Regions from separate parts of the Homo sapiens genome. Here regions 2 and 3 are each linked to region 1. Evidence: promoter capture Hi-C in human tissues and cell types (Jung and others, 2019). All regions are on one chromosome and are shown on one strand. The core of a region is centred on a gene start or on the middle of the fragment in contact, and the rest is flanking DNA. Distances in the headings are between cores, read along the strand shown. Region 1 holds the start of AFF4 (ALF transcription elongation factor 4). Region 2 holds the start of VDAC1 (voltage dependent anion channel 1). Region 3 holds the start of C5orf15 (chromosome 5 open reading frame 15).

The links. Contacts are between HindIII fragments. The study calls those that stand out against the background at their distance.
Region 2: a contact is called between the fragment with the promoter of VDAC1 here and the fragment with the promoter of AFF4 in region 1, in 1 of the 25 tissues and cell types used here (dorsolateral prefrontal cortex).
Region 3: the fragment with the promoter of C5orf15 here is called in contact with the fragment with the promoter of AFF4 in region 1 in 1 of the 25 tissues and cell types used here (aorta).

The regions. Positions count from the first base shown.
Region 1 is chr5:132,962,012-132,965,873 of GRCh38, forward strand. It overlaps AFF4 (ALF transcription elongation factor 4), which reads right to left and starts at 1,623. Exons shown (of 21, transcript NM_014423.4): 1 at 1,248-1,623. It overlaps AFF4-DT (AFF4 divergent transcript), which reads left to right and starts at 1,801. Exons shown (of 2, transcript NR_186175.1): 1 at 1,801-2,123; 2 at 2,230-2,679. RefSeq lists a silencer at 1,078-1,917. The HindIII fragment of the contact is 9,387 bases long and covers 1-3,862 here.
Region 2 is chr5:134,003,280-134,007,141 of GRCh38, forward strand. VDAC1 (voltage dependent anion channel 1) reads right to left here and starts at 1,696. Exons shown (of 9, transcript NM_003374.3): 1 at 1,616-1,696. RefSeq lists enhancers at 420-469, 480-529, 2,180-2,299, 2,370-2,429, 2,470-2,539 and silencers at 760-1,799, 1,860-1,919, 1,960-2,009. The HindIII fragment of the contact is 12,628 bases long and covers 1-3,862 here.
Region 3 is chr5:133,966,643-133,970,504 of GRCh38, forward strand. It overlaps C5orf15 (chromosome 5 open reading frame 15), which reads right to left and starts at 1,983. Exons shown (of 3, transcript NM_020199.3): 1 at 1,804-1,983. The coding sequence starts at 1,942. It overlaps LOC105379183 (a long non-coding RNA gene), which reads left to right and starts at 2,047. Exons shown (of 2, transcript NR_134247.1): 1 at 2,047-2,150; 2 at 3,109-3,581. RefSeq lists enhancers at 1,177-1,276, 1,907-2,126. The HindIII fragment of the contact is 9,621 bases long and covers 1-3,097 here.

The sequences.
Region 1 (3,862 bases), core at 373-2,872:
GCTTTGTTGAAAACCAAGTGGCCACTTGCCAACACTTCTTTATGCACGTATGACCAAAGATGATTCTAGGCAGACTCACAGACCACAAAGGCTCTTTATCAAATCCCAAATTAAGAAAGTTCTCATAAATATTTCAATTTTGATAAGTTAAAGACCAGTTAAGTTTTAAAAAGCACTTTATGAAGTGCAGAATCAATACAGAAACGAAGCTTTGCGCTTTTCATATCTGAGCCCGAAAAACAGCACACATTTTATGTTACATTTACAGTCTATTCACAGACACCTATAGCTTAGATTCCATCAAGAAAAACACTGGTCAATGGAAAAGTGACTGGCCTTAGTATAAAATTTCCATGTGGCCAGCAGGGAAGAAACCGCATAATTCTGAATTACAACTGACAAAACTACGAGAACCCTAAATCGAACTCTTCGCCTTGAACTCCATATACAAACATTTCAGATTCGTACTTCCACTTCCTGAAAATAATACTGTTTGTAAACGAAAAGGCAATAAGGTTACTCCCAAAACTCCTGTACTCCATGATCCATCCTCAAAGAGTGGAAGGAACAGCAAAGTAGAAGGAACAAAGCACTGACGTCAATTACGAGATTAACCCCAAGCACAGGCAGCTGGAGGAAAGGCCTAAACATCAATATCCACGCACAAGCTACTGGGATAACTAGGTAACAGACCGATTCAGAAGTTGTAGGGGAGGGTATTCGAGTATTATACCCCCACGTTCCCATTTTTAGTCAATCCCCTTCGCAAGTCGAAGGCGGAAATTTTTCCTTCTTTTTTTTTTTTTTTTGCGGGGGTGGGGGTGTGGGAGAGGTGCGCAGGATCGCGAGAAGGAAAGCGAGAACTAGCTGGGTAATGTTAGCCAGAATCTGGGCCTATTTTCTCTTTAATTAGACATAATTTGAAATTGAGGAGGATATGAAAAAGTAACAAATCAGCCGATGGAACGTCTGAGGAAAGAAAGAGGAAAGGAGAAACACTAAACGGATGGATTTCTGGGAATTTTTGTTAGGATTGGGTTAGCTTTTTTTATTTTCTTATCTTTGCGGGAAGGTGGTGGGGTGGGACGCGCAGATGAGAGGAGGGGTGACGCCTGATTGAGCAGCCCCAGCCCGGAGGGTCTCCCCGAGGCTCCCCGCAGAACTTGCGGGCCCCCACCCCCACCCGGCCCCGGCCACAACCCCCGCGGCCCGGCCCGGCCCTGGGTCAGTCTGTCGGCCCTTCTTACCTCCAGTCCCGGCTCCGCTAGGCCCGAACCATCTCCTGGCTGCGGCAGTGGCGGCGCCGGGCCTGCACCTTCACCGGACGCGCATTCGAGCCCGCCCAGGGGGCGGTGACAGGCTGCCAAGGGCGAGGGGCTCCGGGAGGCGGCGGGGGTTCCGGAGGCCTCGACAAACGAAGGCGGCGTCGGCGGCGGCGGCAGCGATGCGCCTCACACGGAACAGGCGTAGGCCCCGCACCGCTCCATGACGGTCGGGCCCGGGCTGGGACAGCTGACTGAGGCGGCGGGGGCGGGTTAACGAAGACCTGGCACCAGGATCCCCGCCCCGTCCGCTGGCGGCGGCGACGGCAGCTGGACTCCTGCAGCCAGGGCTGTGACTGACGCAGCGGCCGTGCCACCATGTGACCAAGACCGGGCGGGTGCGGGGCGTCACGTGATGCCTCTGCGCCCCTCCCCGCTGGGGGAGTAGGGGGCGGGGGTCTGTGGGCCGGCTGGGCCGGGAGGCGACGCCCGGGGTGGTGACGTTCCCGGCTGTGGGGTCTGATGACCCGGGCCAGGCAAAGGACCCGCCCGAGCGGTATAGGCCTGAGCCTCTGGGCACTGCGGCCGCGTCCGGCAGGGCTGCCACGGCAGTACAGGGCCTGCACATCCGGGAGCTCACGCCCTCCTGCGCGTAGCCCGCTAGTGAGGTTCCGAAGGGCGGGGCCGGGCCGAACCGGATATGCCGGTTCTGGGGCTCAGGTGACAAACCCAGGCCTTCCGCCCCTCGCCTCTGGTGGGGATCCGGCCCAACCCGGAGCTTCCTAGACTTGCTTCCAGGTGTCGAAGCCTCGAGTCCTCAAGAGGTCCAGCAAAAAGGCAAAGGACGCAGGAGGCTGTTCGGTATTTCCAGTAAACTTACCCTAAGAAGCCAAACCGTCCCTCTTTCTTCGTCATTTAAACATCTTCTGCCACTAATGTTTTCCTTTTCATTTATTTATTGAGATAGATCTCGCTGTTGTCGCCCAGGCTGGAGTACAATGGCGGGATCTCGGCTCACTGCAACCTCCGCCTCCCGAGTTCAAGCGATTCTAGTACCTCAGCCTCCGGAGTAGCTGGGATTAAAGGGGGGAGCCACCACCTACGGCTAATTTTTGTATTTTTAATAGAGACACGGTTTCACCATGTTGGCCAGGCTGGTCTCGAACTCCTGACCTCAACCAATCCACCCGCCTGGGCCTCCCAAAGTGTTGGGATTACAGGCGTGAGCCACCGCACCCGGCCCACTAATGTTTTTCTTCAGCATATCATTCTGAACACTTCTTTCACCTCTAAACATCTACTATTTCTTTTAAGCTTCACTCTTTATATGCATTTTCTCTATAGAGCTATATAAATTAGGAAATGTCTTAATAGAAAACTCAAAACATGACAGAATAAAAAATAATTGATTCTCCCATCTCTGTCTGTTAGCTGTTTCAGTCCTGGAAGGCAATCACTTAGCATTTAATAATGTATCTTTCCCTACATATTTGTAAGTAATACATTAAAATATAGGGATACTTCTTTTTACACAAAAGGTAACACACTATATACGCTGTTCAGTCCTTTTTTTCTCACTTCAAATATCTTGGATAGGCTGGGCACAGTGGCTCAGGCCTATGATCCCAACACTTTAGGAGGCCGAGGGGGGCTGATCGCTTGAGACCAGGAGTTTGAGACCAACCCCGGCAACATGGCAAAACCCCATCCCTATGAAAAATACAAAAATTAGCCGGGCGTGGTGGTGCATGCGTATAGTCCCACCTACTCTGGAGACTGAGGTGGGAGGATCACTTGAGCCTAGGAGGTCGGTGCTGCAGTGAGCCGGGAGCTTGCCATCCAGCCTGGATGAGAGTGAGACCCTGTCTCAAAAAAAGAAAAAAGAAAAAAATGTCTTGGACATCCTGCCATATCAGTATATAATGAACTACCTTTTTCTTCCTAGAGGCAGAATAATATTCCACTTATGCAAACATCCTAATTTATTTAACCAATCCCCTACAGGTGGATATTCCGCTTGTTGCCAAGCCATTACTATTACATGCTAAGCTGCAATGAATAACCTCATACAAGACAGGGCAACATAGTGAGACCCCATCTCTACAAAAAATAAAAAATTAGCCGTTTGTGGTGGCACAGGCTTGTGGTCCTAACTACTAGAGAGGCTGAGGTGGGAGAATCGTTTGTACCCAGGAGATGAAGGCTGCAATGAGCCCTAATCGCACCACTGCACTCCAGTCTCAGTGACAGAGCAAGACCCTGTCTCAAAAAAGTTAAAATAATTAAAAACGAAAAACAACTCCATATAATGAGCAAATTATACCTGTATGATAAATCCTTAGCCTGGAATCTTTAGATCAAAAGGATTTTTAATTTTGATAGATATTACCAAATTATCCTACACAGAAATTGTGCCTATTTCATTTACTTGCTTTCAAATTCTGCTTAAGAAGATTTACAAGGCTGTATAGGTTGGAGGGTTGAGGGGATGGAGAGTGGCAAAAGAAAAGAATATTTGTCACTTTACACCGTAATAATTTTTTTTTTTTGAGACAGAGTCTCGCTCTGTCGCCCAGGCTGGAGTGCAGTGGCGCCATCTC
Region 2 (3,862 bases), core at 446-2,945, 1.0 Mb after region 1:
CTGGCCCTCGGTAGTCTGCTCTGGCCTTCTCCTGCCTCAGTGGAGAAGTTTAGGCAACAGAGGAGCCCTTTCCCCTATCTCCCCAGGAGAGGGGAGGCTAGTCAAGGGGACAGGGACCCCGGGCGGAACGGGCTCTAAACCAGGGTCTGCTCCTGCATTCAAGATCTCCACATGCAAACTTACTGCTCCAGCTTGACAATGTCCATTTGTAAACTTACAAGATTTTTCATAAATTAAGCTGAAAGTTACTCAATACCTGGTATACAAATGCTTGTCAATAATAGTGAAAGAATGTTTAAAAACAGGAGCTACATTTATTGAACCCCTTCCACAACGCCACGTGTAGCAAAATGGTCTGCGGGGGATGGGCTGGATTCACCCAAAAAGCCCCAAGGGTGTCAGGGTTTCTACTTAGCCCTTCTCCACACCGGCACTGTTCTAAAGGTTTCATGCTAATTAATTCATTTTATTATTCCCCAAAACTCATCGAAGGAGAGGTACAATTGCTCCCGTCCTATAGATGAGAAAACGAAGGTATGGGGACTTCCCAGCTGTGTGACCTTGTACAAACCACTAAGACTGCGGGCCTCTAATCCAAAGTCAGGCTCCGAAACAGTTTCCAGAATGCACCGCCGCATTTGGCGAATGAATGAACGACCGAACCAGTAATCACTCCTAAGACCAAGAAGGCCACATCCTTCCCCGTGGGGCCTCCTTTTCCGAGGCCAAACCTTCAGCCCAGGCCCGAGCTCCGGCCTCTACCGCCTAAGTCGACTCTCGGCCGGCGCGTTCCGCTCTAGAAGGCTCTGGCACAGGCGGGCGGTGCCGGGCGCCAGCTTCTGCGGGCGTGGGCCGGCCAGGGCGCGTGGGCCTGGGGACTCGGGGCCACGGTCGTCACGTGAGCTCATCCCCGAGGCGGCAGCGTGGCCGGCACCCGCCCGCTGGCCTGGTCCGGCGAGCGTGGGCGGCGAACGGGTCCCCGCCGGATGCACGCTGGTGGGATCCAGGGCCAGAGGGCGCCGCCGGGGAAGGTCACCTAGACGCGCGGCCCGCCGGGCCTCCACGCGGCCGCCCTTGCACTTCCGCCCGCAAGCCCGGGCCGCCTCTCGCCGCCAGCCGCAGGCGTCTCTGGACCCTCGGCCTCGCGCTCCCCAGCCCAGACCTGTTCGGCACCCGCCTGTGCGGCCTTCTCTGCCCGCCCGCTCACCAGCCAGGCCCGCGCCGGCCGCTCGCGATCCCTCCCCGCGGCCGGGCTGCCGGGGCCCCTCGCCCGCTCCTCCCTCAGCGCCTCCCTCTCAGCTCCCCAGGGGCCTGGCCCCCGCCGTCCAGGGCGCAAGGAAGCCGGGGTCCTTTTCCGCTGCGCCTACCTCAGAGGATGTGGCGGCGGGCTCGGAGGCGGCTACGGCGGGGGCTGCGACGCGGAGGCAGGGAGCCGAGCCAGGGAGCGGAGCCGAGCGAGCGGCTGGGCCAAGGGCGGGGCGGCGCGGACGGCGGCGGCGCGGACCCGCCTCCCCTCCTGCGCGCCCGGCCCGGCGCGCTCCGCCCCCAGGCCCCGCCCGGGACAGCGTCCAGGCCGGGCCAGGGTCCCCATCCCGCTAGCGAGCCGCGTTCTTACCCTTCCGGGCCCCGCTGCCCCGGCAGCAGACACAGGAGCCTGCGGGCGTGTTGCGGGCGCGCGGGAGGACCTGCGTGAGTCGGGGCACGGGGAGGCGCCGGACTGACGTGTGCACCGTGTGTGCGTGCGCAGGGACACGCGGGTTCTTGCTGGAAACCTCGGCCCCAGTGGCAGCGCTCGGGAAGGGGGAGGAGGCCTTCCGATTCTCTGAGCTGTGGCCCGGAGGTCCCTGCGCTAATGGAAGACGCGCGGGGCTCCTGGGCCTCCTGCTTGGCCTCCGCGCTGCTAGATCCCCCGGGAGTTGATGTGGCCGGCGCTGGACCCAAGCCTCGCCTGGGTGGACAAAGTGGCCCCCGGCCCCCCATCAAAGCCCGCGTGGGCCCCATCCCCCGAGGGCAGTCCCAGGCCCAGCGCGGACACTGGGCGCCTGGGGCGGCGCAGATACAGAGTAGAGGCGGCGACTGTTGCTCCCGAGCTCCGCGCTCCGGATACAATGTGTCTGGCGCCTCCGACCCGCCCGCGCGGCGTCTAGACAATCTCAGAGAAAACCCCTGTGCGCCGATTTTGCACTACAGATTAGCGATTTTCTCCTGTAGCAAAGCTACTAGCAGCCAATTTCCATGCATTTGAGAGGCAAAAAGACAAAATAAAACAAAACGTGGATTGGGTTTTGCGAGGTCCCTGCTGGGTCTCTCGGCGCGAGGAGATCACGCCGGTTATGGCCGGCCGGCCGACTGAGGGCACCCCGGGTAACCCCCGCGACCAGCCGGGGCGTGTCCTGCGGGACCCAGTTAGTGTGTGTTGAGTGAACGGTCACCTCGCTGCTAGGCCTAAGCGAGTGGTCTCGTTCACCACTGAGTGTCCCCTGTGTTACGCGCGAGGCCCACTCGAAGCAGGTTTCGAGAATTAATTCGTAGATGGACGAAGATTCTACACATCCTTCGCCTTTGATCAACAAACGTCCTGGAAGGCTTGAGGCGTCTAGGGCCCTGTGGAGGAGGTGCCGGGTTACAGAATCAGGACACTCCTCACAGCCAGCTGCGACACTATCTAAAGCAGTGGGCAACTGGGGCTACGGAGGAGGCAATCAGGACTGGCTGCTGGGAAAAGGCGGCAGATTAAAAGTGGCGACTGGAGTTGGAAAAGGTGCTCCAGTGGGATAGGGTGCTGAGGAAGAGGGCAGCTGATACAGAGTGGGAGTGGGGTGCAGACAGGTTACCTAGGCCCTGTGTAGGGGCTGGGGGAGGGGTGACTGGGAATGTAAGGAAGAGCCCCCTTCAAGATCCTGAGGAGTGTAGGACGGATTCTATGACCCTCCCAGGCGCACGAGTTGCCTGGGAACTCTGGGCTTCCCAGCCTGGTGGTCCCCACCCCGCACACTGAGACTGGTGGGCAGGGGGAGGACAAGAACTCAGGGAGGCCGGGCGGGACAAGGCGGGGCTCCAGGAACCCCACAGGGCTAGGAACAGATGCCGGTGCAACCCAGTTTTGAGGCTGGGAGCAAATGTCGAAGGGCTTCCTCCCCTCCAGCGCCACCTCTCAACTCCGCTTTAAAGAACCAATCTGGGCCGGGTGCAGTGGCTCAAGCCTGTAATCCTAGTACTTTGGGAGGCCGAGACAGGCAGATCACTTGAGGCCAGGACTTCGAGACCAGCCTGGGCAACATGGCAAAACCCTGTCTCTACTAAAAATACAAAAACTAGACGGGCGTGGTGGCGCGCGCCTGTAGTCCCAGCTACTCAGGAGGCTGAGGCACGAGAATCGCTTGAACTTGGAAGGAGGAGGCTGGAGTCAGCTGAGATTGAGCCGCTGTACTCCAGCCTGACTGACAGAGTGACATTGTCCCCCCCCCCCAAAAAAAAAAAACAAAAAAAAACAACAACTTGGAAAGAGTTCTTCATGGCCTCTGCTACCCTGGGCCCCTTCGCCAGCTCCCCTAGGTGCTAGTTTCAGATTAACCACTCACTTAGTGGCTGCGTGACCCAGGCAAGAAGGCTGGCCTCTAAGAGCCTCAGCTTCAGAGTGTTGGTGTAAGTTTAAAATGGGACACATAAAGAGTAGGCACTCGGCCCCGTGCAGTGGCTCACTCCTGTAATCCCAGCACTTTGGGAGGCTGAGGCGGCTGGATCACCTGAGGTCGGGAGTTCGAGACCAGCCTTACCAACATGGAGAAACCCCGTCTCTACTAAAAATACAAAAATTAGCCGGGCATGGTGGCACATGCCTATAATCCCAGCTACTCGTGAA
Region 3 (3,862 bases), core at 733-3,232, 1.0 Mb after region 1:
TGTAAACTCACTTGAAATTTGGAACTCAACACATTCTAGACTAATTTTCTTATTACAGGAGTGACTACTTTGAAATTATAAGGTATGCTTACAAAAAATACTTATATCCCAAGCTACACTGTAGTGCAGTGGAGCTGCTCGCCTATTAAAGACATGTATGTTCGTTTTCATTTAGCTTCTTTTCAGGACAGAATAATCTGAATTTATGACATTTTAAACTGGTGTATGTAAAGACTTAATTTAAAAGATAAAGATTCTCTAAAATGTCTCAGTATAGTTAGAAAAATATTTATAGGGCTCTAACAAATAAAAGCAGAGACTAAAGGACACTTAACAGTCCACATTCTGCCTCACTTCTTGCCCAATTTTCAACCATCTCTTAGGGGAAAAAAGCTGTTTCTGAAACTACAGTTGCCAGATATATATCCCTTAAGCATTCCAGCAGGAAATATAAATGTTTGTGTTTTATTTTTCTTAGATGATTAAATGGCCAAAACAATTAAGCTACTTAAGTACTTTAGGAACGGGAATATCTGCATCAACCAGGGAAATCCTCATTACATTTCACTAATGATAAAAGGGCCTTAGGAAATGGACAGCAGTCCTTCCTCAGGGACTGCAAAGACTTCTGGGAGGGCGTCCAGTTAGCAACACTGAAATGTTGCTGAGGAAACATAAGTATGTACCCACAGTACTGTCGCAGAGGAATGTAGGGCTGGACAGGCCCTGCTGGCAAGAAAGAAAACACTATACCAGGTCACACTGTTTTGCAGCTGAAAATTCAAATTTAGGGAGAAACGCAGGACTGTGTCTTGGCCTGAAAGAAAAATGGGACTACTAAACAAAATACCGTTTAATCCTTACAAGTTCTTAATAGTGGATTTTTCCCACCAAGTATCAGGCACTGGTTTACAGATTTCCTAATTTCTCAATAAAAGCCTTCAATCTCTTGATTTCACCATGCAACATTTGCAAGAAATGAAATATTTTATCAATCAAATCCTACAGATGCATTAAAACGAGGCAGGGTTATCCTGGTTAACTCGGAACACAGGGAAGAGGAATCATGATCTCCCTTGTCTCCAAACTCCTCTCTGCCTCCCAAGCCTTCAGGGGCCCAACGCCCCAGTACTCTGAATCTTTATCAAACACCAGAACCTCCCAGTCTTCAAATATGCACCAGTACCCTAAGACAGCTCTTTCCCTTTCACTTTCCCTCTCGGAAATATTCCATTGGTTCAGTCCAGTCACTGGATTACTGCCCCTGCCCGCCTCGGTCTTTACCACTGACCTCTCCCATTCTGGAAAACCCCCACCTTTCCTTGGTCCTGCAAGATTCCTGAGTCCCCCAAACTCAGGACCCTTTCCAGACACCACACCCCCAGCCCCGGCCACCTCCTCAGCCCCTGTCGCCACCCTCTCTTCCAGAGTCTCCTAACTTTCCGATCCAAGAAATTTTGGAGACCCCACCACCGCCATTCCTTGCGGCAGCCCATTCTTCAACGATCTCTAGGCGCTAACACCACTCCTCCCTCCCCGCCCATCTACACACCCTGCTGCCTGCTCCCTGGGTTCCTGCATCTCTCAGGGACCCCGCTTCTCAGGCCCCTTGGAGACCCTACCACCTTGGACCCCTTCAGACACCATACCCTCCGTCCTCAGGCCCGCGGAGACCCTGACCCAACCAGACACCGCCGTCTGCTCCTGACACTTGGAAGCGCCCTTTCCCTGGCCCGGCCTGTCTCCTGCCCTGCGCCCGAGCCCTCCTAGCCTTCCTAAGCCCACACTGCCGCCCCCCTTTACCACTGGATAGAGCGGCGGACACAAGCAGGAGCGCCAAGACCAGCGGCCGCGCCAACCCCACAAGGGCTTGGATGGCCGACCCGGGCAGCAGTTTCGCTTGTGCTGGCCCCCTCATCCTCTTCGGGACGGCAGCGGCCATAACGGACTCGGCTGGGAGCCTGCGCTGTTGCTAGGCTCTACGCCATGAGGTCAGACGCCGCGGCCCTCGGCACATACGTCCCAGCGTGGTGACGTCGAAGCCTGGAGACGTGCTCTGGAAACCGGAATAAGAAGGAAGGATTGCAGGGAGGAGGGAGTTGCCGCTAGGCGAAAGTGGGGACCGCCACACAGTTGGCTGCGGATTAAAGGTAGGGTGTGACGTGCTGAAGAGGGCCAAAGCGAGCCCCTCCCTGCCGCCTGCATGATTGGGTACTATACAGCCAAAAATAGCGTTTTTAGCCATTTTAAAAAGGAAGATCCAGCTGTAGAACAGACTGATCACGAAAGCGAAGTAACTGCTCTTCCTCTCTCAAAGGCGAAAGAAACACAAATGTTAAGTAGTCCTATTTCGGTGATGGGATTATAAGTAATTTTTAAAAATCTTTCCCGACAGTCATTTATTTTTTTTCAACAAAGATTTAGCACCTCTCCCTATTTAAGATACAGCAGTGAACAAAAAGAACCCCCCACCCCCCCGCCCGCCTTGGCAGTTTATTTTCTTGTGAGGGCGAATATGGTGTAAAATACACACTATACAAGATGATAAAGATATTATGGACCGGCCCTAGTGCAGTGGCTCCCAGCACTTTGGGAGGCCGAGGAGGGCAGATCACCTGAGGTCCGGAGTTGGAGACCAGCCTGGCCAACATGGAGAAACCCCGACTCTACTAAAAATACAAAAATTAGCCAGGCGTGGTGGCGCGTGCCTGTAATCGCAGCTACTCGGGAGGCTGAGGTAGGAGAATCGCTGTAACCCGGGAGGTGGAGGCTGCAGGGAGCCGAGATGCCACTGCACTCTAGCCTGGGCCACAGACTCCGTCTCAAAAAAAAAAAAAAAATTATGGAGGAAAAGAAAGGAAGGTAGCTAGGAAGTAGAGGTGAGGGGCTGCCATTGAAAATAACTTTCAGATTTCCTAAAATAAGCTTCTCTTTTTAAATTTTGTTACTTGAAATCCCCAGTGTATAAAAATGCAAACTTACAAACTTCCAAGAAGTTCACCTAGGGCCCTGGCGCCATACTTTGCTCTGTGTGTACGTTCTGTAAATGTCTCCTTAATAAACAGATACAGGCTTCAATTCATAAAAGTTCCATTTGATCAATTTCAGGAAAATCAATGTGACGTTAAGCAAGACATTTATTGTGCCCACAGCTTCACCATTCTGGTCTCTATGATTCCCTGCGAAGATTGCTGTTATCCCCCAGAGACACAGCTGAGCTGTCTCTCTAAAGGGCCTGTGTTCTACTCCTGAATCTGGTTTCCCCTAAGCTTTTATCTCACCCTGGTGACAGCTCAGAAACACACAAACTCTGTGTTAAGAAAACTAAGAAGTCATTCATCTGCACATTTCCCGAAATCCCCCAGAAGCCCGTATTAGACTGAATGGTGTCCTTATTGCAAACTCTCCACTTTAGCCAAGGTGCAAAGTCCTCCCAGTCCCCCAGGAGCTTCCCTTCTCTGAGCGGTACTTAAGTTTTCTGTAAAACCACTCAGTTCAACAAATGAGCTTCTCAATCTTAGTTTCTGCTTGTTGACTTTAAAGTTAATCTATAATAAACACACTGCAGTCCTCTTCCCTGACTCATTGTCCACTTTGTCCATTTGTGTCCTCATACCAGATTGTCTCAATTCTCTTAACTGGTGAGATATTATGAACTCAAAGCATTTTGCACAATGATATTCCAACATGCTGCATGCAACAAGCAGACAATAAGTAACTAGTGAGGGAAATATTCCCTCATACTCAAGAGAACCCTTTATACATTTTTAAATATTTTAGGGCCAGGCTTATGCCTGTAATCCCAAGTACTCGGGAGGCTGAGATGGGAGGATCACAGGAGCCCAGGAGTTCAAGGCTGCAG